Regions from separate parts of the Homo sapiens genome. Here all the other regions are linked to region 1. The links are contacts of gene promoters, found by promoter capture Hi-C in blood cells and fetal thymus (Javierre and others, 2016). All regions are on one chromosome and are shown on one strand. Each heading gives the region's core, a stretch centred on a gene start or on the middle of the fragment in contact. The rest is flanking DNA. Distances are from core to core; before and after follow the strand shown. Region 1 holds the start of PRDM5 (PR/SET domain 5). Region 2 overlaps MAD2L1 (mitotic arrest deficient 2 like 1). Region 3 overlaps MAD2L1-DT (MAD2L1 divergent transcript). Region 4 overlaps MAD2L1-DT (MAD2L1 divergent transcript). Region 5 overlaps MAD2L1-DT (MAD2L1 divergent transcript). Region 6 overlaps MAD2L1-DT (MAD2L1 divergent transcript).

Region 1 (3,171 bases), core at 223-2,722:
GTGTTCCTCTCCCTGCTGTGAAAGCTAAACTTACATTTCTTAGAAAGAGGATCATGTCATCATTTACTGTGTTCCTTAAAGTCTCCGAATATTGCCACTACATGATTTTTTTTTCCCATAATGCCTTTTGTTCTTGTTTTTTAAACCTTTTTCCAAACTTGAATCAAAATCTACATAGGGGCCGGGTGTGGTAGCTCAAGTGTGTAATCCCAGCACTTCAGGAGGCCAACGCCGCCGGAGGATCCCTTAAGCCCAGGAGTTCAAGATCAACCTGGGAGACATAGCTAGACCCTGTCAAAAAAAAAAAAAAAAAAAAATCTGCTTAGGAACTATGTTCCAAGGGTTTCCTGCAGAAACAGGAATCGTTTCCATGGTGTGTGTGTGTAGTCTGTAATTTTGTCAAACTTTTGTGTGTGCTTTTAATGGTTTATGAGAACATCAATTAAGAACATCAAATGGTTTCCGAGAAAAGACCCTAGAGTAGAAAATTACCATAAATATCAAGAGAAATGAGTAGATGACCCCAGGATCACTTTGAAGGATGAAACAGGCTTTTAAAGGTCCTGGGCACACTGCACAGCCTAACAGCTTATTAAAAACACTAAAACAAGACTTGTGACTTTATTGCATTGTTGTGACACCAGATGCTATTGTTTGGGTGTCCCCTCCTGTCTCCCACAAATCCACTTCCGTATGTCTGAAAATCCGTAATACGTCTAATGATTATCAAGCAAGGGAGGTCTCAGGAATATTGTACCTTGAGAAGTATAAGAACTTCCCAGAGGTTATGTTACCATAAAATATCTAGTTTCTAGTGCTTAAAACATTAAATTGTTTGCAACATATTTTTCCGTACGTTAATCAACATACTTTGCGATCCCTTATTAAGTTCTAGCCTCTGCAACAAACGTGAAAAAAAGCAAAGACGCATAACTCAAATGTGAGAAGCACGGAAATTTCCTAGACCGCAGGGTTCGTTCTCAGTAGTCGGCAATAAGCTGGCTTTCAGAGTCAGGAACTTGATAAAGTTGTTTTGGAGGATGCCCCAGCTGTGTGAAGGTCCATTTCGTTTTGCATCTGAAGAGAAGCAAGCGAGACTCCCCTACAGGGAGTAATGGTTCAGCGGGGCAAGGTTTGAAAACCCAGAGCTGGACAAAGGCGGGAACGCACGCCGCCGCGCCGGGGCTAGGGGTGCTGACGGCCCGCGCAGCTCGCGGGCCTCCGGGTTTGAGGCCCTGGGGTCAGCCCTGCTCCGGGCTTCGCGCCCGGGCGCGGGTCAGAGCCGCCAACTTCGGGCCAATCAGCGAGCGGCGTCCCGGCGCCCGCAGCGCCCAGGCCCGCGCCCCCCGCGCCCCCGCAGCAGGAATGGCAGGAACGGATCCGGGCCGAGCCCGACCCGGGACGAGGAGGGGCTGAGCCGCGGGGGATCCTGGAATCGGCAGGGAGGTGGGGATTCTGGGAGGAAAACTCCATTTCCTCCTTCCCTGCCGGTTTCTCCCCTCTACCCTGGCACCCCAAATTTCGATGTGCCGCCTGCCGGGCGCTAAGCGCCGGTGTTGAGAGAGGCGGCGGCCGCCGCGCCCGGGAAAATGCTGGGCATGTACGTGCCGGACAGGTTCTCCCTGAAGTCCTCCCGGGTTCAGGACGGCATGGGGCTCTACACGGCCCGCAGAGTGCGAAAGGTGGGTGACCCGGCGGCGGCCTGCGCGCCCCTGCACCTCGCGCGCCCTGTGCCTCCCGGAGTCGCCCTGCCGCAGGGCCCGGGGCGCGGCGGGCTTCACCCCGGTCGCCCCTCGCCCGGGCCGGGCCAGGCGTCCGTGGGAAGGCCGGGGACCGCGGGGCACGGCGGGGGTGGCCTTTACTCGCTGCGCCACCCGAGCAGGCAGCGCCACGTAGGTGGCGGCGGGGTGCGCTCCGCTGCCGGCCGGTCCAGGGGCGGAACTGCCACCGGCCTCCCTGCCGCAAGATGTCTTTCCTCTCTCCCGCAGGAAGTGAGCGCGGCGGGAGCCTCCCTCTTCCTCGGTTACGGGTGTGAGCTGCGTCTTTGCGTTGGCGAAGGCACGCGTGGGCGGGTGTTTTCCCCCGCGCGCACGCTGCTCCGCTGTCGCCTCTTTTCCTTTAGGATGAATTAATGTGGCTAGAAACGCCTAACTTTCCATGCGGGGATGGGAGGAGCAGCCCAGAGCGCCGCTCCACGCAGGCCGTAGAATCTCATTCATACGCCCAGGATTTCCTTCCCTCCTTCTGGAATGTATTATATGTGCCTTCAGGGAGGTGCCAACCAGATGATCTTTGAGTGTCTATACCTTTTTTCTCCGCTCTTTTTTTTTTTAATTTGTCTCCAACATCGGTTCGATCTCTCCAGCCAGAAAGTTACAGGCATGTGATGAGAGGAAGCACATTGCTCAGTTCGTACAGGAAGGGCCTGAAAGTGTTGGATGTTGAAAGCAAAGGCCTAGGAAGAGAGGCCACAGGAAAAGTCCAGCTCTTTGGATTTGATCTTATAATATTATAACTTGTTAGAGTCGTCCTAGCCGTCCTCGCCCCCTTTTCTTAGTAGATATTTTGTAAGATGGAGGTTTGGGCAAGAACAGGCTTGTTCAGGTAAGGTATGTTAACAAGAGGTTCAGAGGATGCAGTAGAGACACTAGGGTGCCTTTCATCTGCATATAACCCTCTCCCCTTTGCCTCTGACCTAAAGAGCTGGTGAAGAGTAGTAGAAAGTGCTAGTAATCCCCAAAAAGGGCTCCACTGACAACATGATCTCCAGTCATCCTTCAGGGCAAAATTGGAGAAAATAAACCACTTATTTATTTTTTCAAGTGGGAGTTGGCGAGAATGTTCAAATGTTAAAAACAGGAATAAATAATTTATCTGAATTAGAGGTGTATTGAATAGTTGCCAAATGGCCAAATGTTAAAATCAACATTTTTTGAAGGCCAAATACAACCATCACCAAATGACGTCTGTACAGAGTTGAAATTCTCCTTTTAATTCATTCTTAAAAGATGTGAAAAATTCTCAAACAGACCTTCCTTAAAGGTTTCTGGCTTAAATTTAATTACTTTAAAAATTAAACACAGATCTTAAAAATCATTTTATTTAATGTTATGAAGAGTACTGTAAACAACTCTGCAAAGATTAGAATTATTATATAATCCTTGTTGTTTC
Region 2 (3,171 bases), core at 495-2,994, 870 kb after region 1:
ATCTGGCTTTCAGGATCCTTTTCCCAGTGTCATCAATCAGAGAAGTCAAACCTCTGTGAGAATGCTTGTGCAGAGGTATAACAGTCTCATGTATTGGTTGGCTTTTGCTGCACCTTTCTCATTCTGTTGGAGGGACATTGGTTAGTCAGGACTCTGAAGGCCAGCTTTTTCACACTGACCAAAGCAAGTGAAGGTCAAGCCTAACTTTAATGGGACCAGGAAGTATACTCCTCCCATGGAGGTGGTGGGAATGGCACCGAGAAGTTTGATGACAGTTATCTAATGGACTAGAGGTTGGCAAACTTTCTGTAAATGGCCAGGTAGTAAATAGTTCTGCTTTTGAAGGCATATGGTCTCTTGCACCTACTCGAGGCTGAAAGCAGCTATAGACAATACATAAATGAATGAGCGTGAGTGTGTTCCAATAAGAAAAAAACATGGCTGTTTGCTTCGGCCCCAGGGTTGTAGCTTACCAGTCCTGTAACAGATCACAGTTTGCTCTTTTGGTCACAAATACTTGAACCCCTCCCTAGTTCAGAGCATTTGATACCGTAATATTTAAAGCTCACTTGTAAAACATCGTTTGTTGCCTCCATCCATAGTATCTCAAACAGAATGTCTCTCCCAAATATACCTAAATTCCATATTCTCTGAAGCACAACCAGCTATTTTCTTGACATACTTCCTAACACACCCCACAGTTCACAATTTGATCTGAAAACTTGTTAAGGGAGGTTCTTTGGCATGTGATGCCATAAAAAGAGAGGTATGGGCTCTCCTTTAAAAAAGAGACCCTTTTTATGAGACTCACAATAGGATAAAGAGCCCATGCCTATTTTTAATCATTTTTTCACTATATAGACATGCATGCTGAAAAATGTTTTTATTAGTATAATGCTAATTATACTGACTTCCTATATATTTTAGCATATAGATTCAAAGATTATTAGCACAATAAGGTAGATAACTTCATAGACCATTTCTTCATCTTGTTTTCATTTAGTATGTAAAATTTATCTAAAATTTACATGAAAGATCAGAATAGCTATGTAATGCTACTTTGTAACTCTTATATTTTCCACCAGATGTCACTAATGCTGTAATATTCAAATTAAGATGACTTTCTTTTGGTTCTAAAGGCTGTAAGCTTATTGGAAAAGCAAGGTTACTCAGCATTGGAATTCCTGGCAACAAATATATAAATACATTAGGGGAATAAACACTTAGCATTTATTATTTACTAGTCACTTCACATGAATTTTTATTTAATTCTCATGCTTTTGTGCACAAGTAAAACTGGGGGTCAATGGGCATGCAAATTGTGTCGTGGTTTTTGAAGTTTAGTGGTCTCTCCTATCCCTGGCCAAGGAAGTATGCAAATTGTATTGTGGTTTTTGAAGTTTAGGTGATCTCTTCCTTCTATCCCTAGCCAAGGAAGTTCATCCTGACTCCCCAACAAGCATATCAAAAGGAGTGTTTCGTCACCTTTTTCCTCTTACCCTTTACATCCTTTTAGCAATAAAGTGTTCAGAACAAACTGGTTTTCCTTTACTGTGCTTTGCAAAACTTATTCATGTTTTATTGGGTGACTTTGTATTTACACTTTCCTCAGATAGTCTGTTGTCAGATGACTTTGACCAATGATTGGGAGGAACCAAATACAGAGGATTTTATCCTATGCCTAATCTATATTGTCTACAGAGTAAATCAGGTATGAATTTGTGAACAGTAATGAAACAATTTTCCAACTAATCAGAAGAATTGTTTGTTAAGTAACCTTAATTACTCAGTTTTTGGTGAATTGTTTGCGGCTTAACTTGTAAATAATTTCTTATTCTTTTTTTAAATGTATGAAATATTTCTAGTTATTTTGTTCAATGTGACTGATAAAAGTTTATATTGGAATAGCTGTGAAATGGAAACTGTCTACTCAATTTTAAATTTTATTAGTTATATATTTTTAAAAATAGATCTTTTAGAGATATTTCCATTCTTCATAATTATGACTTTTAAAGCCAGCAGTATTCACTGAGGCTAAAAAAAAAAAAAAAAACAAACGTAGTTGGGCAAGCTACTTAATCTTCATTAGAGTTGACAATTCTGTTCCAATCTGGCAAAAACATTGTAGCCCTAGCAACAAGACTATTAGAAAAGGCCTAGAGTGAAAAATGTCAGAGTTGACCCTCTGATTACACAAGTTGGTTTATGTTACCATGTCACCTATTTTTGTCCTCCACCATGTGATCTATTTTTATACCAGAGAAACATAATATAGTTACATTTACTTGTACAAAGCCCATTTCATCTACATTTATCTGCACCATTTTGCTATGCAAGCTTGTTTGCACAAAGGAACTTACATGAGATCAAAATCTTATTTTCTTGGAATTTTATCTGTGTGGAAAAAGGCATCCCAAATATAAGCTGGACCACCCATAGTCCATTTCCTTGCAAGGGAAAGAGTCCAAACACTTTAAAAAACTTTCTAGATATGGACATATCTAGTGGATGCCTAGACATGGATATGAATTTCTTTCTGAAATGGCAGTCTCACTGACCAAGTACAGATGCTAGTGGTTTTAAAGATTGGGTCTGTGATGTGCAAAATATTTCATATCTAACATGCAGTTATTGGATCACTGTGTTCACACTCATAAGAGTCAGTACAGCTCTTTAAAAACAGGCTGTAAAGCTTACAGCCTCCAAGTCTAGGAAAGGAAATTCATGGGTATTGATCATCTACTGTATGCCAGGCACCACTGAAGTGCTTTACATCTGTTCAGCTGACTCCTAAATGAATGGAGGTTGGGGTTAGTGGGGAAATGGAAGACTTGGGCCACAAGCTGTGGTCTTAGAAACTGATGATGGGACATGGGGAGAGCCATGAGATAAAGGAAATTAAGTCTGAGTTCCAAATGAGGAGTCCTCTGGAGCAAGGAACAGCCCCCAAACCTCAATTTAGGGCTGTGAGGGAGAAGAGGGTGGGGAGAGAAGGACTGCATCCAAAATGGAAATTCTACAACTCCGCTGATGCCTCCATCGCCCCAGAGGAGACCCATAAAGCAAAACCATGAAGAAACACTGGGGAGTCTGAATCCTTTATAGAACATCTTTAGCTCAGTTTGTGGGCAGGGAAGGGATCAGTCTTCAAATTCATTCATTACATGCATT
Region 3 (3,171 bases), core at 401-2,900, 840 kb after region 1:
CTTAGCAAATATTATGGAATATATCAGTAACATTAGGAAATGAATGACACACAGCATCATCATTTTATTGGAATTCCCTATTGTGAAGCTGAAGTGTGCAGGTCTACTCTGAATAAATTCAGAACAGAAAACAGGAAAAGTTCATACAAAAAAAGAGCACAGAAAAACAGAGGAGGTCAAGAAAGGACCGGAGCTAAAGAGAAGACTGAAAATTTGGCAGAATTAAAGGACTAAAAATCATCAGATATGGAAGATGGATAAAAAGGTGAAATTAATGAATCTATGATAATGAGGCAAAACCAGAGATTTTCCTGGCAATTATAGCACTTACTGGAATTTAAATAGTGAAGATAATTAAAATAGTGAAGTCTTAAGTGCCTCGACCTGGACTGTCACTATAGCTTTCCAATCTGTACTTCACCTGTGCTACAGTAACGTTACTAAAACACAACTTTATATTGTCCCCAATATAATTCTATAAAAACTTTTAGTGTCTCTCTAACGTCTCCTGAGAAAAGTCCAAACTTTTAGCCTGTCACACAAGGCTCTCTAGAAAAAGAACCCAGATGTAATCTGATCACATGAAGACTCTGTCCTGGGGAAAAGTGAGCTAATTTGATGCTTCCATATTTTGTCCCATAGATTTTTAAGTTCTGTGCCTGTGACGTCCTCTCTCTACACATCTATACCTATAAAGGTTTTTATCCCCACCTTTACTTTATGGTCCAGACTGGACTTTAATCATCTCCGTTAAACCTCTAATTGACACCCATCTTTGCCTGCCTAAGTTCTAAGCACTCTTCAAGTTCTAAGTACTCTTCAAAATGTTTATAACATATACTATACCTAACACTGTGGAAAATGTTTATAACTCTTCAAGTTTTACATCCTCCAAGAATATTTCTTTTGCTATCTTTGAATTTGTTTGGCAATTACTGCATACATTCAATTGTTTCTCATCCTGTACCTTCTTATGTGCAGCTATTTTTGTGTAATAATTCCCCAACTAGATTCCCAGCTAGATTTTTCCTCTTGCATCCATACAGCACCGCACTGTAAGATAAATAGTACTCAATAAATATCTATTTAGGAAAACAAATATCCATTTATTTCTCCTTCATTGACTTATCATCCCACTCCTCATAATGGCTGCTTTAAAAATCTTTCCAACTCTTGGCGTGGCGCAGTGGCTCACCCCTGTAATCCCAGCACTTTGGGAGGCCAAGGCGGGCGGATCATGAGGTCAGGAGATCGAGACCATCCTGGCTAACACAGTGAAACCCCGTCTCTACTAAAAAACACAAAAAATTAGCCTGGCGTGGTGGCGGGCTCCTCTAGTCCCAGCTACTCGGGAGGCTGAGGCAGGAGAATGGCATGAACTCGGGAGACGGAGCTTGCAGAGAGCCGAGATCGCGCCACTACACTCTAGCCTAGGCGACAGAGCAAGACCCTGTCTCAAAAAAAAAAAAAAAAAAAAATTTCCAACTCTTTTCACTTATGTGACATTATCTTTCCCTTCCTCCACTTCCCTATCTCACCTCCTCCTCCACTGAGAAGCTAAAGATTATTCTTTACTTGCATTTCAAGAAAAAATGAGAATTTATCTGCATCCTCACATCTCCCTTCTTCCTTGTTTTCAATTTCTAAGAGGGAATTGTCTCTTCTGTTTATTCTCTACTTGGGTCCTTGATGCCATTGCTTTCTGTGGCCTCAGGTGTCTGGCTCTATTAGTTAGGCCTTTCCAACTTTCAACTTCAGTATTTATATTTCTTTTGCTCTCTTTCCTCTAAATATCCTAAACATAAAATTCCCAAGATCCAGCAATTGCTTATGTGGTTTCTCCACTCTCCATTTCTCTTGCAAACCTTTTACTTCTATCTTCTTAGCCTTACTTCCAAACTCCTTGTAAAAGACTTTTATACCCTACCGTGTGACCCAAATTGTCTCCTCTTAGTTCACCAAAAATCTTTCAAGTACAAAATCTGTGACTCTTCCTCAGTCATTCTTATTTGTGCTGAATTATTTACTAAACTACTAAAATAGTATTTTTCTACCTAATCCAAATTCACTAAATAGGTTCTGACATTCCTCTCACAATTTGCCTCCTACTTTTCCATTTCTTCTGAGTTTCCTTCACTGCCTCTTCTTCCTCAATGTGTCATTTTATTAGCTATTACCTCAAAAAAAATTTTTTTTTTTTGCCTGGCCTAAAACCACTTGAAGGAAAATGAATCGAATGCCACAAACTTATCTATATCATCTCCATGTATAACAGCTCCACACCATGATCCCCCAAAACCCAGGCTGTTCTTCAGAGTACAACCAAACACATCTCAACACATTTTTAAAATGTCTCTCAAATTTGTCATCTTTTTACATTCCTGCTGTATTGCATATTCTCATTTCCTTTTGTCTGAGCTATCAATAAAATTGGCAGGACAAAGAGTAGGCTATTTCAAATGCCATTCTATCCCTTGGCCAGAATATTTGTTTAATGCCTCCTCTTAGTTCACTGAAGATCTTTTAAGTAGAAAATTGACAAGATCTTTTAAGCACAAAATTTTTAAAAAATTCCTGTTTTTGCAGCCCTAGTCAGGGTACCCCTTTTGGCCATCCACTCTTAGCCAGATGAGCCAGTATTGCACCCTGGATCCTACCTCTTGTTTCTTTTCCTCCAGTTTTGGACTCTTTTCTTCCACTTTTGGATTATTTTCCTTGTTCCAATTCTGTGACTTTCCAGCCATTCAGCTCCATTGGTTTCCATTGCTGAATGGGTCTCAGGAGTTACATAGCAAGGATGGAGGAATATTAAGGACCCACTATAGTTTGCCTCAAATTAGAGTTATCTAAAATATAGTCAGATCTTTGATGCTTTCAGGATTCATATTCTGGTACCATCTAGATTGCTTGGATTTGACTCCAGTTCTCCTAGCTGGGTGACCTTAGCTAAATTATTCAACTTCCTTCTGTAACTTAATTCAGGTAATAGTAGTATCTAACTCTTGAGCTAATGAGGGATTAAATAAAATGATTCTTGTAAAGCACATAGAAATGTGCCTGGCAGATAGTATGTGGTTAATAATGTTGGCTATCATTATTATATATGTTATAAGAGTTTCTATCTCATCTGTGCCTTAAGTTGTATTATCTAAAGCCTCCTTTAGTTATGCT
Region 4 (3,171 bases), core at 352-2,851, 810 kb after region 1:
GAATTTTCCATTTTAAAAGCAAGCTAACTGTGAGACAACATTTTTATTTACAAATATGTTACATACATAATTCTGAGGCAGTCTATTTTTGCTACTACTTTATTGTTCAATTATGTACATAAAAGAAAAATATGAAAGCTTTGAGAAAATAATATGAAAACCTAATAATTTTTAGTTTATAATCTATAATCTCACACATGACATTCATTATATGGTTATGAAAAATTATTCTTCTCAAATTTATGCCAGTAAAACAGATAAGAAAATTCTTGCATTTTCAGCAATAAGTTGATATGATGAATTTTTGAAATTTTATTCCACATCTCTTAAGTAATTTTTTGCTTTGCAAGCCATATGTGTGATTTAAGTCCATATGTGTTGTTGTAAGTCCCATAAATCTCTTTCTTTTCTAAATTGCTATGGTTAACATTTATTTTAATTATCATTGATTAATTTTTTTTAACAAAAGTCCAATTATCTTAGTGTGAGATCCCATTCTGTGTGTTATAGGAAGTCCACATCTACTAAGATTTCTTAACCTTTGTGTTTTTAAGAATTCCCAGGGAAGGATTACACTGTCCAACAAATATGTCTTGGCTATAGCTTCTCACCTCTGGTTCCAGACATTCCTCTGTTGTCACTTGGGACCTCTCACAGGAGCTTCCCTAGTAGCTGAACACCCACTAAGTTCTGATTTGCCTCAATGTATCAAGAGCATCTCATCTTCTACAGAAGGCAATCCTGTTTGTTCATTTAATTCTGCCTACAGTCTGGGCTCCTACTAACTCTTTAGGACTCCAGAAAGGAAATCATCCTATTTCTCACATTTCACATCTTATTCACTGCCCAGTGATAGGATGGTTGACCAAATGCCAAGTGTGTTTAAGCAGCTTAAATAAATTCCCCAAATCTGGTTTATCTAATCTATCATAACCTTAGTAGTGGAATACCAGCAGTTCAGCCCAGATTTCACTGTGCCAAGCCTAATCAAATCCATTCAATTTTCAGTCTTATTTCTAGTATAAAATAAAGAGAAATTCACATATTTATTTCCCTCCTAGTTTGGTCTAGTCTTACAGTTTTATAAGTGCAAACACTTATAGTGAAATAATGTACATGTTCCCAAAAAATTAATCCTTTTTAATCTGCAGTGCCTTCAATTTTGATTTGGGAAGTCTTCAAGCAAATCCAATTCAGACTTAGAAATAAAAAAATAAAAAATAACTTTATAGGAGCAATGTTACTAAAATGACACCCAACTTATTTTATTAAACAGAAAATTTAATTTCTCAGCCAGAAAAATGATTTTGGAGTTTTTTTTGTTTTTGTTTTTGTTTTTTGTTTTTTTTGCAGGCGATGAAGGCCCCTTACGGGGAGTTTTAAAATAATACTTTATGTGGTGAAAGAGTTCTCCAAAGATACAACCAAATTTCACTGCCTACTTTTAAGTTTTAGGAAAAAATTTTAAACCTTTAAAATGGAAGTTTGAGTCTACTTTTTAGCCATTAAGTTTTTATAAATATTGGGATTATTCTCAGAGTATCCTGCTACTATAAAATAATTCCTATAAAATTTCTTGAAATGGAGTGTAACAGTTGTTTACACCTTAGGTATGGACTCAAGTTTCCCTCCTGAGTCCAAAAGGCTCAGGTCCAACACATTTCTTGTGAGTCCAACGAAAAGGGACAGTGCTCTGAATGTTGCCAATGCTATAGCACAGTTGCTCTGATCCCAGGGTAGAAATACCAAGAAAATGAAGCTGGACATGTATTCTTTTGGATTCAGTGTTGTCAATTGTGGTCACTCTACTGACCTTCTTTAGCTCCATCCCTGACAATTTCACCAGTTTGCTGCTTCACAAGAACACAGATGTAGTAGACTGTCATAGTGGCGTGATATTTTATCTTAGGTCTGTCCAGACTTTTTAACCCAATAAGAACATTCAAGAACTTGAGAGAATCTGCTTTAGTATCAAACCTTAGATATTCATAAATTCAGGTGAAAAATAAAAAAAAAAATTTATTCACAAAATTGCTATTATATGAGTATAACATTGCAATATCTCTAGTGATATTTAACCACTGTTGCCTTTAATTTTTAGGTCCAAAATAAGGTGAGGATAATGATGACAATGTGGTAGCTTAGTCAAGCGTCTCACACTTCATCTGCTGCAAGCCAGTGTTTAATTTGCAACCTTTACAGCCTACTGTACTTATTTGAAAATAGAGGCCGGGTTAATAGGGGAAATGCACAAACCTCAGGTGCATATACCTGTTTGATGTGACGCAGGTGTTTGATTTTTCCTCTGAAAGATCCACAGCAGCATGAGGAGATAACCTTAGGCTAGCAGCAACCCGTTGGGGACTTTTTTATATTTGGTCAGCCATTTATCTTGTTGGCACATGGCACCACATGTATGACTTTTACTGCTTTGTTTTTTTATTTTCTGTAGATAGCCTCATTACTTGAGAAAGTGTAATAAAACCTTTGTTTTCCTGAGATCAGTCTTATCCTTCACTTTCAATAGTACCTGAGGGTTCTGCAAACATTCTAAAGGAAAACTTACAGCCCAACAGCTTTCTCGGCTCACACACTGCAGCAACACACAGTGGCCACATAAGACATGTATTTCCTGGTATGAATTAGACCCAACAATTCAGTTACAACAATATGCCTCATGAGACAAAGAGGTCAACATGGACAAAGAAAGCCCCCTCCACAAGATGTCAGAAACATAGTTCTATACAATAATCCCTCTATACAATCCACTGAGACCATATGAGTAGAATAACATCCTGCTCCTTTATCCCAAAGAAAACAAAACTGAAATATTAAATTCTAGAAATTTCATACAAATGAAAAATCAGTCATCATAACAGGAAGAGTCAACCAAATAGAGGAGCTTAAAGGGCTATTACAGCATTCAATTTTTTTAATCAGTTAAAGTTGGAAGGAGTTCCCATATAAATGACTGAATATATGCCTTTAAGGACCGTCTTTGAAATAAGAATCTTCAATTGATCCTGATTTGAGCTACAGGCTAAAAGCAATAATGTAAGCTTGAAACTGAAATAGCATATTTAGTTTACATAATTTACTCATTATCTCAAATACTACATAAAGAAAAGAGGGAAGAAATAAGAAAAAAGTAGCAAGACTAAATAAATACTG
Region 5 (3,171 bases), core at 436-2,935, 790 kb after region 1:
GTTGTTCTCGAACTCCTGACCTCAGGTGATCTGCCCACCTCGGCCTCCCGAAGTGCTGGGATTACAGGTGTCAGCCACCATGCCCAGCCTAGCTATTCTTATTATTCTTTTTCAGATGAAGAAATTGAGGTTCAGAGAAGTTAAGAAAATTACCTAATGTGGTAAATGATAGAGCTAGTAGTCCAAACCCTATCTATCAATACCCAAAGCTTAAGCTATTCAATATCATGCCACAAAGCGACAAACTGTATTAGCATATTTTAGGTGGTTGTAGATATTCTTGATCCCTGCAAAGGCTTCAAGAAATCTATAAGGGTTCTTACTCAAAATTCAGGTCCATACAGCCAGTGGCATCTAGCCTTTTGTGGCTGTTTATTATAAGAAGGTGTACTAGTGGTAGGAAACAACCACATCTGTGAAAGGCTCAAAATAGTGACTCCAATCCCAGAAAATATATTTTCCTACAAGAAACAAGAAAGTGTTTTCACGAAAAATAAATTGTAATAGAAATTAAAGTTTCTGGATAATGTAAACTTTTTTGTTTTTTTTAATTAAGCATGTCATATAATGTAAATGCTTTATGTTGATTGAAATAAATGCCAAAGGTAATCATAATTATTTTCTTTTTCTAAGATCCAAAAAATAATTTAACCTTTATACCAGATGAATCAAAGTTATGTAAGACTTTTAGAAATGTTTTTATGTCATTTCCTGTTGATCTCATGATCAAATTACCACCACACAAATTTTTCATATCTATAATTCTAAAAAGCCAGATTTCCAAGAAAATCCTGAAATTCCCAGAAAATAATACTTGAAACTCTAAGTATTTCCCTTCAAATGACAACAGATAAGTGATAACTTTTTTGGCATTAGCACCTTCAGCATTTAACCTCTGATAAGCCTGAACACAGACAAATATTACAGAGATCTTCATTCAACACATAGCAGTAAAAATTTCACTAAATCCTGCCTTGGGATATGAATGTCTTTTTACTGAGCCATTGAAATCTGTATATATTTTCTTTGAGAAATAGATTTTTGTGACCATGGAAATGTTTTCTTCTATGAATCACTGAAAAACATGATATATGTTCCTCCAAATTAATGAATTATCCATAATTATATAACAACTTTAGGTCATTTATAGTATTTAAAATGTCTGCCTATTACACTGATAGTGTCACATCCCTGAATAAAACAAGGTCTTATTTTTCTTTTTGTCATTTCTTTTCTTTGCAGACCCCAAATATTTTATTTATTTCTCATTGACTACCCACTGTATTACTGTATCCCACATTAATTTCGTCCCATCGTTTTCCGGATGTATCTACTGAGTAGAAAGTCCAGAAATTTTGAAGGAAGCAAAGAAAAAATAGCAGCAGTTTGTAAAGATTCTAGATCGATTTCATCAGTGACATTCTGTCAAATGGAATTCTTATACCTCTCACTATAACTCAGTAAGGACTGGCTCCTGGAGACATGAACAGTTTTAGATACTCTGACATTTAATGTCAACCAATGTATTGAGGACAGCCATTGTAACCATAAAATTGTATTTTTACCCTTAGAAACAATGTTTCATCATTATAGGCTGTCACTATTATTCGCTAGTACAATTAAGGTATTTTTCTTTCTGAGTCTTTGTATGACCTAAAATCACATAATCATGACTTATACTAAACAGGACTGAACTGTCTTAAGTAGATATTTATGTCTGGTTTATAAGTCTGCGTGTCTATGAAACAGGAAGATACTTTTAACTGTTAAAATCTCCCTGCAACATGACTTAAATGTTCTCATATATTTCCTCTATTACTAGCTTTATTATTTGCTAATTGTTAATTCATCTATAAGTGTTGCTTTAAATTAACATAAAATTTTCTATATACACACATGTAGATAGGCCCACCTGTAATAAATTATAAACCCACCTTTTAATATGGTGTGTTTATTCCTGCTTTTTTCTGGATAAATTTAATCCTTCCTCATTCTAAATCGATGTTTTCCAATTTTGATCTATGACTCAGTCCACTTCAAATAAATCTGAGAAATAAAACATATCTATACTCCTTTTGAAAAACTAATGTACATTGTATATGGAAGGCCCTGATGACTCTCCAATAAAAGAAATTTTTTAAAAAATGTGGAATCCTTAACTTCCCACTGAACACTTTCATAGTATAACATGATATCCAGGAAAGTAACAATGCTTGGAGCACTTTTGAGGGCATGGGCTTGATACAAGAGTGGAAGATCATATATAATTTCTGTCACAGAGGAGGCATATCTATTTCTTCTAGAAAATAAATTGAATCACTAATCATCATTTCGCTATGTTCTAAAATTCCTGAAAATGTAACAGAGAGAGTCAGTCTGGTTACATTACATTGATTATATCATTTCGTTGAATCTAGAAACTACACAAATAATTATGATCAGGCCTAGAAATTGCTAAATATATATTTTATTTTATTGACAGACATGTATATATTCTTCTGTCACAGACCATATGCATTTAGAGATATATTTTGTTCATATATATTCTCTTCATAACCCAAAAAACTAGAATAACACTATTAAATCTTCTTATTATGAATGAAGACAGACATTGTGCTTTCCAAAGCAGCTACGGCCTCAGAAATATTCAACTTACACAGTAATTGGCACCTAAAAGCATTCATATATCAACCAAAATAATGAGGCAGTATGGGTTAAGGGTCTGAGTTCTAGATTCAGATCCTAGCTCTACCACCTTAATAGCTGTGTGATCTTGAAAAAAATTACCAATTTCTCTGAGTTTCATTAGGGAAATAACAACAGAACTTTTTTGTCATGGAGCAGTTTTCAGTAATAAATAAGATAATAAATGTGCAGCATGCAGCACAATAGTTGACATTATGAGCACCTGATAAGTCTTATATATTAATATTATCTAAATGGTCTGTTTCCACCTACAGAACACTCAGGGAAAATAAATTATTTTTCCTCCCCAAATACTTTCTATCATACAATTATGAAACCCAAAACAGCATGATGTCAAAATTATCAACATTTATAGGACTTTTAAGGAAACAAAAATGCATCTAAATTTCCATTGATTTGGTACAAATTAAATTTTATATTTAAAAACATGAAGATAAGAGAATATGCAAGCTTCTAAAAAGAAGC
Region 6 (3,171 bases), core at 477-2,976, 770 kb after region 1:
AAAAAAAAAAGTGCCACTTTCCTCACAAGTATTTTAAGAAAATGTATTTATTTATTTATGATTTTTTTGAGACAGGGTCTCAATCTGTCACCCAGGCTGGAGTGCAGTGGTATGATCTTGGCTCGCTGCAACCTCCACCTCCCAGGTTCAAGTGATTCTCCTGCCTCAGCCTCTTGAGTAGCTGGGATTACAGGCACCCGTCACCACACCTGACTAAATTTTTGTATTTTTAGTAGAGACGGGTTTCACCATGTTGGCCAGATTGGTCTCTAACTCCTGACCTCAAGTGATCTGCCCTGCCTCAGCCTCTCAAAAATGCTGTGATTACAGGTGTGAGCCATTGTGCCCAGACTAAGAAAATGTTTAATTTTGATGAAATTATGCACTCATGTTAACATATAATGAGTTTATTACTGTTGATTTAAATTAATTATTATTTTAAATATATAAAATACTCTAAATAAATTAATAGTTCTTGGTTTTAATTTCTAAAAGAGTAAATACCTATAGATACAACCTACTTAAACAAAAGCTTCTTGGAGGCCTCAAAATTTATTTATTATTTATTTTTAAATTGACTTTCTCTTATTAAGAGCTTTTTTTTTTTTGTGAGATAGGGTCTTGCTCTGTCACTTAAGCTGGAGTGCAGTGGCGCTATCTCTGCTCACCGTAGCCTCCATCTCCCAGGTTCCAGGGATTCTCCTGCCTCAGGCCAAGTAGCTGGGACTACAGGCACACTCCACCATGCCCAGCTAATTTTTGTATATTTAGTAGAGATGGGGTTTCGCCATGTTGTCCAGGCTGGTCTCGAACTCCTGGACTCAAGCAATCCTTCTGTCTCAGCCTCCCAAAGTGCTGAGATTACAGGCATGAGCCACTGCACCAGCCTAATAGAGTAAATATCTATAGATATAACCTGCTTAACTAAAAGCTCCTTGGAGGGCTCAATAATTTTTAAAAGTGTAAAGGATTCCTGAGACCAAAATATTTGAAACCCCTTACACAAGACTTGTGTATAGTGGGTACACTACAATTTGAGTGCTGTTTTCACATTCACATCAGCTTGCAATTCTTACAATACAAAGAGTGCCTCAATAATAACTGGACTCCATGGACCTTTGGGCATACTTATTCAATATCAACATCTCAAATGTTAAAAATCACAACTTCCTAAGTCCATTCTAGTTCAGGCTGAAGCTCAATTATGTATAAGTCACACAAATGAGTTGAAAAAAATAAGGTTGCAATTGTAGGTTGGATTGTATCACTTAAGGTTTTGGATGCCAGGCTAAGGATGTATTTGTCCACGCTGTAGAAAGTCAATTAAGATTCTGAATATGAAATAGTGGGAAACAGAATTTGAAAGAAGTGTGTAAAATCAAGTGGAGATACAAATATTGAGGGCAGAGGAGAAAGGAGAAACACAAGTTCTAATGTAATAAAAATTACTACAAGAAAGAATGTATGTTTTATTTTTTAAAAATTAAAGACATTTGAAAAAAGGAAAAGAAATTATTTTTAAATGCTGTAAGTATATAAAGAGTATTCTGTGCAAAGCATAACTTACTTTCTGTTGTAATGCATGAGTTCTTTTATGAAGAAATGAACTTAAATTTTGGTCAAGTAACTTGGTTAAATTATAAGTTAAATTGTTGATCAATGAAGATGATTATACATTGGAATAGATCATAAACAGACAACAACATCTCTCTCTGAAGATATTATAAAGATTAGTAGTCCATATGATTATAAGCTACAGCAGATCTCTAATCGAGGCAGTACAATGAAAAGTACAGTGAAACACAGCTGAGAAGATCTGAATTCTGGTCTGATTATGACATACATTAACTTTTTCATCAGTAACATAGACATATTCTGGGTATCTTTTTTCATATCTTATATGTTCTTTATAAGGGCCATCTTGTACATGAAGGTACATGTTGAATATAAAATACTATTCACCAATTGATAACTTATGATGATGAGATCTGTGACAACTAAAAAGCCTATCTATTACTATGACTTTAGGAAAATCTAGAATTCATTCTTCTTTTACTCATATGTTTTATTCCAGGGACTGAGAAAATAGCAGTGAGTAAACAGATAGGATATTTGATGCTCTCAAACTAACAACAGAAACACAAGTTTTTAATAAAAATACTTGGGTTTATACTGGAAATCAATGTTCCCAGATCTTATAACAAATATAAGTATAAAAGTTATACAAGGTCCTGCTAAATGATATTTTCTTGATTTTTTTGGTGATTTTGTAAAAAGTTCAGCAAAAGGATAATTCAGAAATGTCGAAGTTGCAGAAGTTTGCAATTTGTTGATGGTTATGTTCCAAAAGGTACAGTATGTATCCTGAATGTTATCCAGACAAAAATCACAAAAGAATTCATTAAAAATAAACAAAATCAAATAAAGTTGGTAATTTAATCAAGTTTTGTGGTTTGCTTTCCTAAAATTGACTCAAATATGTTAAAAGATAATCCCCTGTGAGAGGATTTCCTAGATTTGCATTCTATCCTGTAATGAAAAGAGGTAAGTATATTGTATACACAGACATAAACAAAACCTCTGCTTATACACAAATACATATGCTATATATACATGTTTTTAAAGAGAGGGATTTATTTAGGTGAAATATATTATAGTCTTTTGAAAAATGCCTTTAAAATTTTTCTTTCCCCATAATGAAATACAGTAGAAAAAAAGATAATTTTACAAGAGTGTTTCATTGTTGCCATCTTTATATTTGAATAGAAACAAAAAGTTAATCTTATGACAAGCCAGGCTTTGATAAGCAACTCTTTGCATTCTCACAGCACATGTAGCAATAGATAATAAGATTGCCACAATTCAGTTGAGTAAGCACATCAATTGACAGTGAGATCAATAACAGATATTAATAAGCTTTTCCCCAAATACACACCACACACAACCACACACATACACACAGAGCTATTCCACAAAGCTTTAAACTTAAGTCATTTGAGATCAATTCCCTAATAATCAACTACTTTGCAAAAGAGGAAGGGAAAACTATTGGCTTAAGTTGGTAACTTTGTGACAGTAGTCCAATGGCAGGTATATGTCACATTACACACACCAAGAAAGGAAACCTACTTGTTTCCTCAGGTGCCAAAGATGGAAAGATAAAGTTGCATA

What was found. The method cuts DNA at HindIII sites, captures the fragments that hold promoters and counts their contacts. A CHiCAGO score of 5 or more calls a contact.
Region 2: a contact is called between a fragment that was not itself captured here and the fragment with the promoter of PRDM5 in region 1, in 1 of 17 cell types (erythroblasts). The highest score is 6.3, in erythroblasts.
Region 3: a contact is called between a fragment that was not itself captured here and the fragment with the promoter of PRDM5 in region 1, in 5 of 17 cell types (erythroblasts, endothelial precursors, M2 macrophages and 2 more). The highest score is 9.5, in erythroblasts.
Region 4: a fragment that was not itself captured here is called in contact with the fragment with the promoter of PRDM5 in region 1 in 1 of 17 cell types (erythroblasts); the score reaches 5.7 in erythroblasts.
Region 5: a fragment that was not itself captured here is called in contact with the fragment with the promoter of PRDM5 in region 1 in 2 of 17 cell types (M2 macrophages and monocytes); the score reaches 5.3 in M2 macrophages.
Region 6: a fragment that was not itself captured here is called in contact with the fragment with the promoter of PRDM5 in region 1 in 2 of 17 cell types (erythroblasts and endothelial precursors); the score reaches 7.1 in erythroblasts.

Annotation. Positions count from the first base shown.
Region 1 is chr4:120,921,027-120,924,197 of GRCh38, reverse strand. It overlaps PRDM5 (PR/SET domain 5), which reads left to right and starts at 1,472. Exons shown (of 16, transcript NM_018699.4): 1 at 1,472-1,682. The coding sequence starts at 1,590. It overlaps LOC105377399 (a long non-coding RNA gene), which reads right to left and starts at 1,262. Exons shown (of 2, transcript XR_001741804.2): 1 at 871-1,262. The HindIII fragment of the contact is 4,297 bases long and covers 1-3,171 here.
Region 2 is chr4:120,054,359-120,057,529 of GRCh38, reverse strand. MAD2L1 (mitotic arrest deficient 2 like 1) reads left to right here. Exons shown (of 5, transcript NM_002358.4): 5 at 1-1,907. Among named protein-coding and RNA genes, the nearest start is that of MAD2L1, 11 kb to the left of the region's middle. The HindIII fragment of the contact is 1,190 bases long and covers 1,150-2,339 here.
Region 3 is chr4:120,077,608-120,080,778 of GRCh38, reverse strand. The region is part of intron 1 of MAD2L1-DT (MAD2L1 divergent transcript); the gene reads right to left. Among named protein-coding and RNA genes, the nearest start is that of MAD2L1-DT, 12 kb to the right of the region's middle. The HindIII fragment of the contact is 3,295 bases long and covers 3-3,171 here.
Region 4 is chr4:120,112,511-120,115,681 of GRCh38, reverse strand. The region is part of intron 2 of MAD2L1-DT (MAD2L1 divergent transcript); the gene reads right to left. Among named protein-coding and RNA genes, the nearest start is that of MAD2L1-DT, 47 kb to the right of the region's middle. The HindIII fragment of the contact is 2,921 bases long and covers 141-3,061 here.
Region 5 is chr4:120,133,577-120,136,747 of GRCh38, reverse strand. All of the region lies in intron 2 of MAD2L1-DT (MAD2L1 divergent transcript), which reads right to left. Among named protein-coding and RNA genes, the nearest start is that of MAD2L1-DT, 68 kb to the right of the region's middle. The HindIII fragment of the contact is 2,947 bases long and covers 212-3,158 here.
Region 6 is chr4:120,151,174-120,154,344 of GRCh38, reverse strand. All of the region lies in intron 3 of MAD2L1-DT (MAD2L1 divergent transcript), which reads right to left. Among named protein-coding and RNA genes, the nearest start is that of MAD2L1-DT, 86 kb to the right of the region's middle. The HindIII fragment of the contact is 2,384 bases long and covers 535-2,918 here.